Linked DNA regions of Homo sapiens: regions 1, 2, 4 and 5 are each linked to region 3. The links are contacts of gene promoters, found by promoter capture Hi-C in blood cells and fetal thymus (Javierre and others, 2016). All regions are on one chromosome and are shown on one strand. The core of a region is centred on a gene start or on the middle of the fragment in contact, and the rest is flanking DNA. Distances in the headings are between cores, read along the strand shown.

Evidence for each region. The method cuts DNA at HindIII sites, captures the fragments that hold promoters and counts their contacts. A CHiCAGO score of 5 or more calls a contact.
Region 1: a contact is called between a fragment that was not itself captured here and the fragment with the promoter of ANO7 in region 3, in 5 of 17 cell types (M2 macrophages, endothelial precursors, total CD8 T cells and 2 more). The highest score is 7.1, in M2 macrophages.
Region 2: a contact is called between a fragment that was not itself captured here and the fragment with the promoter of ANO7 in region 3, in 2 of 17 cell types (naive CD8 T cells and total B cells). The highest score is 5.5, in naive CD8 T cells.
Region 4: a contact is called between the fragment with the promoter of THAP4 here and the fragment with the promoter of ANO7 in region 3, in 11 of 17 cell types (erythroblasts, total CD4 T cells, total B cells and 8 more). The highest score is 13.3, in erythroblasts.
Region 5: a contact is called between a fragment that was not itself captured here and the fragment with the promoter of ANO7 in region 3, in 1 of 17 cell types (endothelial precursors). The highest score is 6.1, in endothelial precursors.

What each region holds. Positions count from the first base shown.
Region 1 is chr2:240,881,269-240,883,968 of GRCh38, reverse strand. No RefSeq gene overlaps it. Among named protein-coding and RNA genes, the nearest start is that of MAB21L4, 14 kb to the left of the region's middle. The HindIII fragment of the contact is 451 bases long and covers 1,054-1,504 here.
Region 2 is chr2:241,583,507-241,586,206 of GRCh38, reverse strand. It overlaps THAP4 (THAP domain containing 4), which reads left to right. Exons shown (of 6, transcript NM_015963.6): 6 at 1,482-1,802. The coding sequence ends at 1,601. It also overlaps the pseudogene RNA5SP122. Among named protein-coding and RNA genes, the nearest start is that of BOK-AS1, 26 kb to the right of the region's middle. RefSeq lists an enhancer at 1,380-1,908. The HindIII fragment of the contact is 4,093 bases long and covers 1-2,700 here.
Region 3 is chr2:241,187,387-241,190,256 of GRCh38, reverse strand. ANO7 (anoctamin 7) reads right to left here and starts at 1,580. Exons shown (of 25, transcript NM_001370694.2): 1 at 1,491-1,580; 2 at 86-200. The coding sequence starts at 193. It overlaps LOC105373971 (a long non-coding RNA gene), which reads left to right and starts at 1,835. Exons shown (of 3, transcript XR_924064.3): 1 at 1,835-1,981. RefSeq lists enhancers at 1-8, 942-1,625, 1,626-2,310. The HindIII fragment of the contact is 15,628 bases long and covers 1-2,870 here.
Region 4 is chr2:241,635,708-241,638,407 of GRCh38, reverse strand. It overlaps THAP4 (THAP domain containing 4), which reads left to right and starts at 1,250. Exons shown (of 6, transcript NM_015963.6): 1 at 1,250-1,467. The coding sequence starts at 1,391. ATG4B (autophagy related 4B cysteine peptidase) reads right to left here and starts at 715. Exons shown (of 13, transcript NM_013325.5): 1 at 684-715. The coding sequence starts at 693. RefSeq lists silencers at 258-397, 438-627, 648-697, 1,068-1,417, 1,448-1,517 and 1 more and an enhancer at 167-1,094. The HindIII fragment of the contact is 17,924 bases long and covers 1-2,700 here.
Region 5 is chr2:240,845,409-240,848,108 of GRCh38, reverse strand. No RefSeq gene overlaps it. Among named protein-coding and RNA genes, the nearest start is that of AGXT, 22 kb to the left of the region's middle. The HindIII fragment of the contact is 653 bases long and covers 994-1,646 here.

The DNA.
Region 1 (2,700 bases), core at 30-2,529, 310 kb after region 3:
AGCACTTTGGGAGGCCGGGGTGGGTGGATCACCTGAGGTCAGGAGTTCGAGACCAGCCTGGCCAACATGGTAAAACCCCGTCTCTACTAAAAATACAAAAAATTAGCCGGGCATGGTGGCAGGTGCCTGTAATCCCAGCTACTCGGGAGGCTGAGGCAGGAGAATTGCTTGAACCTGGGAGGTGGAGGTTGCGGTAAGCCGAGATCCCACCATTGCACTCCAGCCTGGGCAACAAGAGCGAAACTCCGTCTCAAAAAAAGAAAAGAAAAGAAAAGAAAAGAAAAGAAATAGAAATCGTTCATCTCTTTTGTATGGAGAGACAAGTGGCCCAAGGAAAGAAAACACACAAACATTAAGACAAAGAGTATTACCAGAGGTAAGGGGCGATATTTCACAATGATAAAAATAGTCAGTTCATCAAGAAGGTGTAACAATCCTAACAACAGACCTTCAAAATCATGAAGATGAATGCATAAAGGGAGAAGGAGACAAGACCACATTCATGCTGGGAGAACTGAACACCCCACTCTCAGTACTTCATAGAAAAAGCAGGCAAAAAACCAAAACAAAACAAACAACAACAACAAAACCCCAGTGATACAAAGAAGACTTGAACAATGCTGTCATCCAGGCGGACCTGAGGATCTGTAGAAGCTCACACCTGACAATGACGAAGACACGTTCATCTCGTGTCCATGGGATAGTCACCGAGACTGCTGCTAGTTTATAAAACAGACTCTCAGTACATGTTCAAAATACTGAAGTCCATATACAGTATGAGCTCTGACCACAACAGACATAAATTTGAAATAAAAAACAAAAATACATTTAGAATATCCACCAAATATCTGAACATTACACAGTATAAGTCTAAATAGTCTGTGGTTCAAAGAATAAATCACAAGGAAATTATAAAATATTTTGATCTGAGTGATTCCAAAAACACCATTGATTAAAATTTGGGAGATGCAGTGAAGAAGGCGCTCAGAGGGAAATGTTTAGCTTTAAATGCTCATACTAGAAAACAAATAAATGTTTAAAATCAATTAAGCTTCTACCATAGGAAGCTAGAAAAAGAGGAGCAAATTAAAACCAAAGGAAGTAAAATAAAAGGAACAATAAGAGTGGAAATCAATACAAAGCAAACAATTGAGAAAATGATGGTAAATGTCGCTTTTTTGGAGAGACTAATAAAATCAGTAACCCCCTAGCAAGACTGATCAATGGGAGAAAAAAAAGGAGAAAATATAAATTACCAATACCAGGAATGAAACAGGGAAATCAATAGAGAGCCCGTAAGCATTAAAGGATAATAAAGGGATATTATGGATGATTTTATGCCAACACATTCAACAACTTGGAATCAAGCATGCTCTGGGTAACACAAATTACCAAAACGGGCACAAAGAGAGAGACAAAAATCTAAAGAACTCTATGTCTATGAAAACATTAGAAGTCATTAAAAAAATCCTTCCCATAAAGAAAGCTCCTGTCCCATAAAGCTTCACTGGACAATTCTACCAAAATATAAGGAAAAAAAAAATAGTCCCTATTCTAGACAAATTTAATTGATAAATAAAGGAAAAGAAAATACTGTCCAAACCACTTTACAAGACCAATGTAACCTTGCTATCAAAACCTGACAAATATATTACGAGAAAATAAGAGGTCAGTCAACAAAACAGCACATCCGTAGAATATAGAAACATAACTTTATGATCATCTCACCATAGGCAGAAAAGGTATTTGACAAAATACAACAGCTGTTAGTGATAAATACCCTCTGCAAACTAGGACAGGTGGGGACTTCCTGCCTGTGAGAGCAGGGCAGCTGCAGAAACCCCACTGCTGCCGTCAGCCTGACGCTGAGACATTAAACACGTCTCCAAGGCGAGAAGGTGCACACTCATCACTGAGATTCAGCACTGTATTTGTGGCCTACACCGTTGCAATGAAGCAAGAAAAAGTACATAAAAGGCAGAAGATGTACAACTCTCATTAGTCACAGAGAGTTTGATTATCTACTTAGAAAATTTAAAGGAATCTACAAAGAAGCTACTAGGCCTTGTGAATTTAGGAAGGTCAGAAGATACAAAATTAATATAGAAAAAAATGAGATTATATATTAAAAAATAAACAACTGGAAATGAAAATTTTCAAATGCCATTTATAACAGCATCAACAAGATCAAACACCTAGGAATAAATCTAACAAAAGATCTACGCCCAAGTGGGCTGTTTCCAGGAGGTTCTACTTGGAGGGAGAAGGGCCGCTGGGGGCCGGGGAGGCTGCCTGGTCCTGCCTCCTGGGCTGGATCAGTGGCTTTCCTGTTCCTGGGTTCCTGGCTTTCCTTAAATAACCCCCTCCCACTTTGCTGTATGTTGAAAACTAGAAACATTGCTGAAAGTAATTTTAAAATACTTACATTTCTGTTTGTGAAATGGAATTTATACTTTATTTCCATTTTCCTTAACTTGATATATAGATTTGGTGCAGTTCCTACCAAAATTTCAGCAAGCTATTCTGAAGAAATAGACAACATGAATCTAAAACGTACACAGAAATTCAAAGGATGTAGAATACAAAAAACCTTTAAAAGGGAGAAAAACATTGGAGGACTTGTTCTTAATTTCAAGAGTTATTGTAAAGCTACAATATTTGCAACAGCATGGGATTGACACGAGGATGCAATGAAACAGA
Region 2 (2,700 bases), core at 201-2,700, 400 kb before region 3:
TGGCTCACTGCAAGCTCCGCCTCCTGGGTTCACGCCATTCTCCTGCCTCAGCCTCCTGAGTAGCTGGGACTACAGGCACCCGCCACCACACCCGGCTAATTTTTTTTGTATTTTTAGTAGAGACGGGGTTTCACCCTGTTAGCCAGGATGGTCTCGATCTCCTTACCTCGTGATCCGCCCGCCTCGGCCTCCCAAAGTGCTGGGATTACAGGCGTGAACCACCGTGCCCAACCTCAGGGTGCTTTTTTTCTTTCTTTTTCTTTTTCTTTTTTTTTTCTTTTTTTTTTTTTTTTTGAGAAGGAGTCTTGCTCTGTCACCCAGGCTGAAGTGCAGTGGCATGATCTCGGCTCACTGCAACCTCCACCTCTTGGGTTCAAGCAATTCTGCTGCCTCAACTTCCCGAGTAGCTGGGACTACATGTGCATACCACCATGCCCGGCTGCGCCTCTCCTCCTAGATGGACACTGAATTCCAGTGTTTGTCCCTCCAGCTCCATGAGTCTGAGAAGGCCCCACTTAGCTTCTCAGCCTCTTAGCTACCACATCCCTCTCAGCCTCCACCCCTTGAACCCCTTGACTTCCGGGCAGCAAAAGCATCGGGGCCAGTTGCTCCAAATTGGGTCTCACCTCCACACTTCCTTCTCTTTGGGGTGCTGGTCCTCGCTGACTTGGTGGTTCTCTGACACCTTTAAAGAAACTTCTTAAAACCTGGGTTGTTATCTGCAGGAGGGTTGGTCAGTTACAGAGTAGTCAGCCATGGCCATAAGCAGAACTCCGTTTCATCCACTTCTGGTGCCCCCCACCCCACATGACCCCCCACACATCTGGGGCACTAGAGAGATAGTGCCCATCAGAGAATTGTCTTTTGACAGTGGTCACTCTCACAATTTGCCGGCAAACATTCTGGGCATATAGGGCTGACTCATTCGGGACTTAGCTGCCATAGGCTTGGATTCTTGTTGGAAACAGCTGCTATAATTTATTCTGATGAATTACTGTTCCAAAGATGGTATTTCTGAGCTTTCCAAGAACACACTGGACATCAGTTCTAGTTACAGTGAAAGTGGGAGGCAGTGGAGAAGGGAAGCACTGGAAGCTCAGCGCTTGTCTGATCAGGTATATGATTTGTAGAGACCAAAAAAAGGTGACTTCTCCCATCCAAGTACTAACCAGGCCCGACCCTCCTTAGCTTCCGAGGTCAGACGAGATCAGGTGCGTTCAGGGTGGTATGGCCGTCGACAAAAAAGGTGACTTCTAAATAAACAATCCCTGTGTTCCCCTGGTGGTCTTCTGGAGGCAGCTGAAGGGCACCTGGATTGTGACATGCCCAGGGGCCCTGGGCTGTGTGTCTACCCTCCTCTGGCAGGGCCACTGCCTGGCTCACAGCCCGTGATGAGTGTGTGGCATGCAGTGGGCGCACAGGCATTGATTGAATCTTTTGAAGATAAAACTAAGCTATCTTTGTTCCATTCTCCTGCTCAGATCACCCGGAAGTTCAGGCTGAATTCTGAAGGCAAACTTGAGCAGACGGTCTCCATGGCAACCACGACACAGCCAATGACTCAGCATCTTCACGTCACCTACAAGAAGGTGACCCCGTAAACCTAGAGCTTCTGGAGCCCTCGGGAGGGCCTGGCTACTGTGCCTCAACGGTTCGGCTCCTCAACAGACAGTCCCTGCGGCAGAAGTGGGTGTGGCCGTGAGCCTCTGCAGGCTCAAGAGTGTTGTCCAGATGTTTCTGTACTGGCATAGAAAAACCAAATAAAAGGCCTTTATTTTTATGGCTGAGGATTTTGAATATTATCACTTGCGTAGGCTGTACATTTTTTTTTTATCTGCTGATGTTTGTTTTCCAAAGCGTTCCCTAAGAAATTAAGAAGGGGGCTGGGTGTGGTGGCTCACGCCTGTAATCCCAGTACTATGGGAGACCAAGGCTGGCGGATCACCTAAGGTCAGGAGTTCGAGACCAGCCTGACCAACATGGAGAAACCCCGTCTCTACTTAAAATACAAAAAATTAGCCAGGTGTGGTGGCGCATGCCTATAATCCTGGCTACTTGGGAGGCTAAGGCAGGAGAATCGCTTGAACCCAGGAGTTGGAGGTTGCAGTGAGCCAAGATCGCACCACTGCACTCCAGCCTGGGAGACAAGAGCAAGACTCTGTCTGGAAAAAAAAAAAAAAAAAAATTAAGAAGGGATGAATCTCTTTCCTTTTCTTTCTTCTTACAGTTTTGACAAGATCTAAAATATTTGTAAATCTTCTATAGAGTTGGCCGGGCGCAGTGGCTCACGCCTATAATCCCAGCACTTTGGGAGGCCAAGGCGAGGAAATGGCTTGAAGCCAGGAGTTTGGGACCAGCCTGGGCAACGTGGCAAAACCCCATCCCTACAAAAAAAAATAGAAATATTAGCCGAGTATGGTGGTCCATGCCTGTGGTCCCACCTACTCAGAAGGCTGAGGTGGGAGGATCCCTGGAGCCCGGGTGGTGGAGGTTGCAGTGAACCAAGATCACACCACTGCACTCCAACTTGGGTGACAGAGCAAGACCCTGTCTCCAAAAAAAAAAGATGGCAGTCATTTTCTCATTACTTTTAAAGAGCCGAGTCTATATTTTCCTACAGATGGAGCATTCCCAAGAGGCTAGCTGTGATCTTAACATCATCATGTAAGTTTTAGTTTGTAACTCTAATACAGCTTTCGT
Region 3 (2,870 bases), core at 331-2,830:
AGAGGCTCTGGGCCCAGGGTGGGGGCATAGACCCAGGCAGGGGAGGACCTCTCAAGTCGCACCACAGTCTCCTGGGTGCTGTTACCTCCGAGGCGTGGGCTGTGCTCCCGTAAGAGCCCCTCTTCTCTGCCTCAGGGGGGCTCACATCGATCAGGACGGTGCTGTCCTCTTCCTGGGCCCGTCGCCGCAGCATCCTGCTCCTGCACCCAGCAAGGCCGGGTGGGGATGGGGGTCAGAGAGGGGATGGGTGAGACCCGTTCCTGGGGCCACCACACTGCCTGCAGTGAGCTCACTTTACAGACTCGACTCGGAGTAGAATGGGGCTGGGCTGGCTCGGCAGACTCTCCTGGCCATGAGCACATGGAGAACCCCCTAGCCAGCCACGAGCTCCAGGAAGAAACCAGTGCCGGGGCGGGAGCGTCTGGCAGGCCTGGCACAGCAGGCGTCTGTCTGTCCATCCAGTGAGTGCCCGTGTCCCCCAGCCCTGAATGCCGTCCACTCTGCCTGGGTACTCAGTGGAGCCTGAGAAGGCCCAGAAAGGTGGGCCTGGAGTACAGACACCTCTCCCTCTCTTATCCGTAGGGTGGAGCCATGTGAGCCAGGGACAGGAAACCCCTCAAGTCGCCTGCCTTCGCTCATGGCCTGAGGACCCAGTGCCAGGACCCATAGGCCCTGAGCTCCCCAGCAAGGCGGGCCTGATGGAGCCCGGCCTCACAACTCTTGGGGGTCCCAGCTTCCTCCCGCACCTTCGCCCCGGGGGTCTCTCTCTGTGGGAGGACAGGTGCCGTGGCTCCTAGTCTTGGGCTGGCAAAACGGGGCCAGGAGCACGACATCTGTGGCCCTGGAAGGAGAGGGTTCGAGCTGGGGCTGGCATTTGGAGCTGCGACGATGACCGGAGGGTGTGACCATGGAGGCGCCGCAGGAGGTCGGAGGGGCAGCCTTCTAGTTCTACCCTTCACTTCACATTAGCGGAGGCCCAGAGGGACAGAGACTGAGCCTGGGCCGCCTGCACCTGCCTAACCCTGAAGCCCGAGCCAGGTCTCAGTGTTAGGACTCGGCCCCGGCCCCAGGCTGGGAGCCTCACTACGGACTGTGGGGTGTTCCTGGAGGAAAGTCCCCGAGGAGTTTCGGCCACCCAGCAGCCCCTCATGCCCCCATCCTTCTGTGGTGGGCAGGCGGGCCCCTCCTCAGAGCTCTCTGCAGAAAGAATGGGGATGCCCCCCACCCCAACGAAGGGACCTGCTCCATGGGGGAGCCCCTGGGCAGGCAGGAAGCCAACCCCAGCTGGGTGTACCCCGTCCAGAGCCGCACTGAGTGTGTGTCCCTCCTCGTGCCCCAAGGGGCTTTGGGGACCAGGGCGGGCCCTGGCACTGCCTCCCCACAGGCCAGGGTGTGTGAAAGTCCCGGTGGGCTGGGGTGCCGCCCTGCCTCCCTAGAGTCCAACGCTCCACCTTCTCCCTGTGGCCCACACGTCTAGGCTGGGTCCCCACCTGGCACAGTGGCTTCCGGAAGAGGTCTCGGAGGTCATGGCCCACCTCTCAGCGTGAGCCTGGTCTCGGCAGTAGAGTCCCGTCCTCACTGCGGGACAGAGGGTGGGGAGGGGTGGCCCTTGGAGCCCCGCCCAGGCAGTGGCAGCCATTCGCATGCCCTCACCTTGCCTGCAAGTGGGCCAGGAAGCAGGCAGGGGAGGTGCCCAGCACAGCTGGCCAGGGCAAGGCTTCCCGGCTCCTGGAGCAGGATCTATCTTTGTTTAAATAGGGGGTGTGGGGCTCAGAGCTGCAGACAGAGGCAGCCCACTTGGCTGGGCTTTCACACACCCGCATGCAAATGCTGCCGTCCTCCTGGGAACCTTATTTGCTTAGAGATTTCAGGGCTGGCATCAGCTGTCATAGTTGCTGCCTTGGAGGGTCTCGAGGAGGTGGGATTCCACAGGAACAGCCACAAGTGCCACCTCTGCTGGAAGCCTTGCCAGGCAGACCTCGTAAGCTCTGTTTATGTGGGGGGAAACTGAGGCTCCTTGAGGTTACGTAGCATGTGCTGAGTGGTGGGCCAGGGTTTCACCCGGGGGCTGGGGAGATTGGGAGACCCAGATCACACTGCTGGCTCTGCTAATGCCTGAGGGGTGACCTCAGGCACATCCCATGCTCAGGGCCCCATCTGCAAAAGGACAGGAGGGGTCCTAGCCTTCCTCCCATCCTTTCCGCCCTCCTCCTCGTCCTCATTCTCCTCCTAGCCCTCCTCTTTCTCCTCCTAGCCCTCCTCCCCCTCCTCCTTTCTCCCCCTCCTCCTATCCTTTCTCCCCACCTTCCCTCTCCTCCTTCTCCTCCTATTGTTTCTCCCCCCTACTCCTCCCTCTCCTTCTCCTCCTATCCGTTCTCCCCTCTCCCTCTCCTCCTATCATTTCTCCCCCCAACTCCTCCTCCTCCTCCTCTTTCTCCCCACTCCCCCTCCTCCTATCGTTTCTCCCCCTCCCCCCCACTTCTCCCTCTCCTCTTCCTTCTCCTCCTTTCTCCCCACTCCCCTCCTCCTGTTTCTCCCCCTCCCCCCACTTCTCCCTCTCCTCCTCCTTCTCCTCCTATCCTTTCTCCCCGCCCCTCCTCTTCCCCTCTCCCTCCCCCTCCCCCTTTCCTCCTTGGTGCCTGGCAGTGTCTGAGAACCTACCACCCGTGCTCCTCGCCCTCCATGCACAACTGCACTGGGGAGCCCCAAGCTCAGCTTGCTGTTCCAGGTGCCCCCTTCTGCCTGTTGAAATCCCTCCAGGCGGACCCTCATCCTGGCTGCAGCTTTCCCTTATACCTATGCCCCTCTGTGCTTGGCACCTCCCAAGGGGCCCTGTTCTTGGACCTGTGTTGTGCCTCGGAACAGCGGGA
Region 4 (2,700 bases), core at 1-2,500, 450 kb before region 3:
AAAAAAACCAACACTCCCTATACACACACACACACACTCCTTCTCTTTCTCTCTCTCTTAGGACCCCAAGAAACTAAGACCCGATGATACAAATTCACTGTTTCTCTTTCTCGTCACGGAAAAGCAGCTTGGAGAATCTACTGGTTACTAAATTGAAGACAAAAACAAAAAAGATACGTATACTGTGATGAACACGTCACGTTTCTCTCCTCCAACCTACCAATAACTTCATAAAAGTTAAAGAGCTTCCATCCCTTCACGCTCAGCTGCGGAAAGGCTACGCTTTCGCCCGCCGCTCGCGTCCCCGGCCCGGACCGCGGCCGCCCCGTTCGCCGCCGCGCCTCTCCCCGCCCGGCAGGCTCCGCCGCCCTCCACGGCCGACCTGGCGCAAGGGCCTGTGCAGCCACAACCTCCGGAGCGCTCCGGACGGGACCGGAAAAGCAGAAGCTCCAGCGCAACCGACGGCGGGTTCCGCGGCGCAGTGCGCCGCCGTCCCCCTCCCGCTCCCACCGCCCACCACCCACCAACACCGCCCCGCGCTCCCGCAGCGCCCGCCGCCCCGGCCCAGCCTGGCCCGCACCGGCGTGCCCCGAGGCGAGTCGCGGCAGCCCGACCCGAGCAGGGGAGGCCAATGATAAGGCGAGCACCTCCTGCGGAAAGACCGACCCCCGGCAACTCCTCACCTGCGTCCATCTTCCCAGTCCGGCCGCCGACTGACCCGAGCGGCGTCGCTCCGACGGGCCAGCAACGCGACGCGGCGACGGGACGCCGCGGGGGCCAATAGGTGTGCCGGCGCAGGCGGCGAAGACGATACGGCGCGCGAGCGGAAATACGCGGGAGCCGCCATTTTGGCGTACGGCCGGGCCGACGCGAGCCCCGGGGCGCCCTGCGGGCGGCATGGGGTCGTGTCGTGGGACGACGGCTGGTTCTGCTGTCCGACGGGACACTGTGTGCCATGGGTGGCGCTTCCTCCTCTTAGAGGACCCAGGAGCAGTTGTCGAGGCGGCAGAGGCGAGCTCTGTCCCCGTCCGAGCAGCCATCTTGCGGTACGGACGTGCTCGGCGCGCCCATGTCGCGGTACGGACTTGCCCCGCCGGGGCGACTCCCCCGCCCGTCTGCCCGCCTGCCGACGGACGCTGCGAGGGGCCTGCGGCGCCCCGCTGGTCCGAAGACGCCCGAACCCGCGGCTGGCGAGGACGCGGGCGGGGGCTGGGGCGGGGGCGGGCCCGCTGCGGGCGCCTGCGCCTCCATCTTGCCGTACGGCGCGGACGCCGCGGGCCGGCCCACGTCCCGAGCCGTGTCGCCGCCGCGCTCCCTCCCTCGGGGCGGTCCGCGGGCGGGCGGGCGGCTAGGGCCGGGGCCTGGCTGCGCGGCTGGGCCAAGGCCCGCGATGGTGATCTGCTGTGCGGCCGTGAACTGCTCCAACCGGCAGGGAAAGGGCGAGAAGCGCGCCGTCTCCTTCCACAGGTACGCGGGCCCCGGGCCGCCACGCCCCCGCCCCGACCCGGCCCTGCGGGGAAACTGAGGCCCCGCGGCCGGCCCGAACGCGGGGGGCGGGGGCGCCGGGCCTCGGCGGCCGGGGCGCGGGGGAGCGGGCGTGGGCGCTGTGTGACCTTGGCCCGGCCGCCGTCTCTGGGCCGGGCGCCTCGGGCAGCGCAGCCGCCCCCACCCCGGCCGCCTGGGTCCGCCCTGCGCGCGATCGATCCGGCCGGCGCCTAGGCTTCAGAAGCCGCACGCTCTGGAAGCGCAGGTCCTGGGCCGATTGTCCTGCTCGGCCGCGACTGCTGACTCTCCGGACCGCGCGGGCCGTCGGCCTGGATGTCTGCGAGCAGGAGCGACCGGGCAGACGCGACCTGCGCCTCCGTAGCTGACAGCCCCCGAGAGGGCTTTCCGGGACTGGGCCCCCGAGCCCAGGACGCGGGTACGCGCGGAGAGTCTACGGGACGGCCGGCTGGGGACGGCATCCTCCTGCGCTCCCTTAGAGCCTGGCCCGGGGCTCTCGGCCGCTTCCCACGTGGGCCCCCGCGGCAGGGCCCAAACCCCTCTAAGGCCTTGTGAGTTCAGCCTATTTCAGTGAGATTTCTGCGGATTACACGCGGGAGGCACCAGAACCGCGAACAGACTTTAAAAACCACTTTGGAGATGTTTCTGTTTTATGTTGCATGGTGTTATTTAAGTTTTAAAGACGGGAATGGCACGTGTTATTTATAGGGTTATTGAAAGTTCACAGTAGTTTGCTGTAAGTCTTAAATCATTACAATGTATTATAAGAATTAGTAACATTAGATTATTTCACAAGTCAGCCAGCGCACTTTCTTGACAATTTCCTTCAGAGCTTGTGTCCTAGAAGTTTTGTTATTGTTTTTTGAAAACGAGGCAACGTGTTGCAACGGTCTAACATGGTATGGGAGGAAAGGACATCGGAATTGGGGGTGGGGGGGTACCTTTGCAGTTGGCCTCACAGTGTTCAGAAAGGAGGTTAGAAGGTCCTGTTGCTTAGAACGGCCCAGTCCATCCTGTTAGGATTTGTCCTGGTCCACACTGGCCTCAGGTGGAGCAAATAGCAGTTAGAACTGACCACCCTGTCCCTTATGTGCACATTAGGGCCTGGTTTTTTTTTCTTTTTTTCTCTTTTTTTTGAGAAGGAGTCTCCCTCTGTCGCCCAGGCTGGAGTGCATTGGTGCGATCTCGGCTCACTGC
Region 5 (2,700 bases), core at 71-2,570, 340 kb after region 3:
AGTGGTGCTCCCCACCCTCTAATGTACAGCGGTGCTCCTCACCCTCTAACGCACAATGGTGCTCCTCACCTTCTAATGTACAACGGTGCTCCTCACCCTCTAATGTACAATGGTGCTTGTCACACTCTAATGCACAACCATGCTCCTCACTCTCTAATGCCTAATGGTGCACCTCACCCTCTAAAGTACAGTGGTGCTCCTCTCCCTCTAATGCCCAACGGTGTTCCTTACCTCGAATGTACAACTGTAGTCCTTCTTCACATGGTGGCAGGAGAGAGAAGTGCAGAGTGAAGGGGGAAGAGCCTCTTATAAAACCATAGGATCTCATGATAACTCACTCACTATCATGAGAACAGGATAGGGGAAACTGTCCCCATGATTCAGTTACCTCCCACTGGGTTCTTCCCATGACATCTGGGAATTATGGGAACTACAATTCAAGATGAGATTTGGGTGGGGACACAGCCAAACCATATCACCTGTTAAGCTTCCCAAACCTTATCTATACAAATAGCCCCCAGAACTTCGGAGCACCAACTCCCACTCTTTGGAGTCTGTGCTCCCAGGTGGCTGTCCTTATGCTCTGTGCTCAAGTTAACTGTCCATTTCATCCTGTTTTCTGAATCTCTTTATTTAGGGTTGACAGGGAAGGGATTGGCCATGGTGCCTGGCACACGGGCAGCTCCTGGCAGGAGGCCAGCTGTGCCACAGGTCCGGCCAGTGCTCTCTGCAGGGCTGTGTGGCTGCCCTGCCCTGGCTGCCTGGCCAGCCCACTCTCTCAGATTCTCTCACCAGGGTCCAGACTCCCTGTCCCAGGAGTTTCTGGGCAGCGGAGAGGGAGAGAAGGAGGCAGGCCTGGAGGCTCACCTTCCCCCAGGATCTGAGCTTCCACCAGAAAGGAAACCAAAATATATCCCCCACAAATAAACTTCTTTGACATATTTTGAGATGGCTGTTCAGAGGGCCTGAAAACAGAAGCAGCCCTGCAAAGCTTTCTTTTGTGGGGAAATTTGCATCTGTATAGAAAACCTGCATTGATGCAGCCAGGCTTTTGCTGAGGCCCTCATTTTTCTGTATTTAGGAAAGATAAGCTGAGAGTCTGTATTAGCCTGTTCTCACGCTATCATAAAGAACTGCCTGAGACTGGGTAATTTTTTAAAGGAAGGAGGTTTAATTGACTCACAGTTATGCAGGGCTGGGGAGGCCTCAGGAAACTTACAATCATGGCAGAAGGGGAAGCAAAGACATCCTTCTTCACATGGAGGCAGGAAGGAGAAAGAGTGCCAAGCAAATGAGGAAGCCCCTTATAAAACCATCACATCCCATGAAAACTCACTCACTATCATGAGAAAAGCATGGCAGAAATTGCCCCCATGATTCAGTTACCTCCACCTGGTTCTGCCCTTGACACATGGGGATTATTACAATTCAAGGTGAGATTTGGGTGGGGACACAGAGCCAAACCATATCATTCCACCCCGGCCCCTCCCAAATCTCGTATCCTTACATTTCAAACACAATCATGCCCTCCCAATAGTCCCCCAAAGTCTTAGCTCATTTCAGCATTAACACAAAAGTCCAAGTCCAAAGTCTCATGTGAGACAAGGCAATTCCCTTCTGTCTATGAGCTTGTAAAATCAAAAGCTTGTTAGTTACTTCCTAGATACAATGAGGGTACAGGAATTGGGTAAATACACCCATTCCAAAAGGGAGAAATTGACCAAAACAAAGGGGCTACAGGCCCCATGCAAGTCTGAAATCCAACAGGGCAGTCATTAAACCTTAAAGTTCCAGAATGATCTCCTTTGACTCCATGTTTCACATCCAGGTCATGCTTATGCAAGAGGTGGTCTCCCATGGCCTTGGGCAACTCTGCCCCTGTGGCTTTGCAGGGTACAACACCTCCCCTCCCCCCACCTGGCTGCTCTCATGGGCTGGCTATGGAGTGTCTGCAGCTTTTCCAGATGTACAGCGCAAGGTGTCGGTGGATCTACCATTCTGGAGTTTGGAAGATGGTGGCCTTATTCTCACAGCTCCACTAGGCAGTGCCCCAGTGGGGACTCTGTGTGGGGGCTCTGACCCCACAGTCCCTTCTGTACTGCCCTAGTAGAGGTTCTCCATGAGGGCTCTGCCCTACAGCAAACTTCTGTCTGGACATTCTGGAAATTCCATACATCCTCTGAAATCTAGGGATTGGGAGCTCCCCAAACCTCAATTCTTGACTTCTGGGCACCCACAAGCCCATTAGCACATGGAAGCTGCCAAGGTTTAGGGCTTGCACCCTCTGAAGCAATGGCCTGAGCTGTATGTTGGCTCCTTTTAGCCATGGCTGGAGTGGCTGGGACGAAGGGCACTAAGTTCCAAGGCTGCACACAGCAGGGGGGCCCTGGACCCAACTCAGGAAACCCTTTTTCCCTCCTAGGCCTCTGGGCCCTTGATGGAAGGGGCTGCTGTGAAGGTCTCTGACATGCTCTGGAGACATTTTCCTCATTGTCTTGGTGATTAACACTCAGCTCTTCATTACTTATGCAAATTTCTGAAGCTGGCTTGAATTTCTCCCCAGAAAATGGGTTTTCTTTTCCATTGCATCATCAGGCTGCAAATTTTTCAAACTTTTATGCTCTGCTTCCTCTTGAACAGTTTGCCACTTAGAAATTTCTTCCACCAGATACACTAAATCATCTCTCTCAAGTTCAGCTT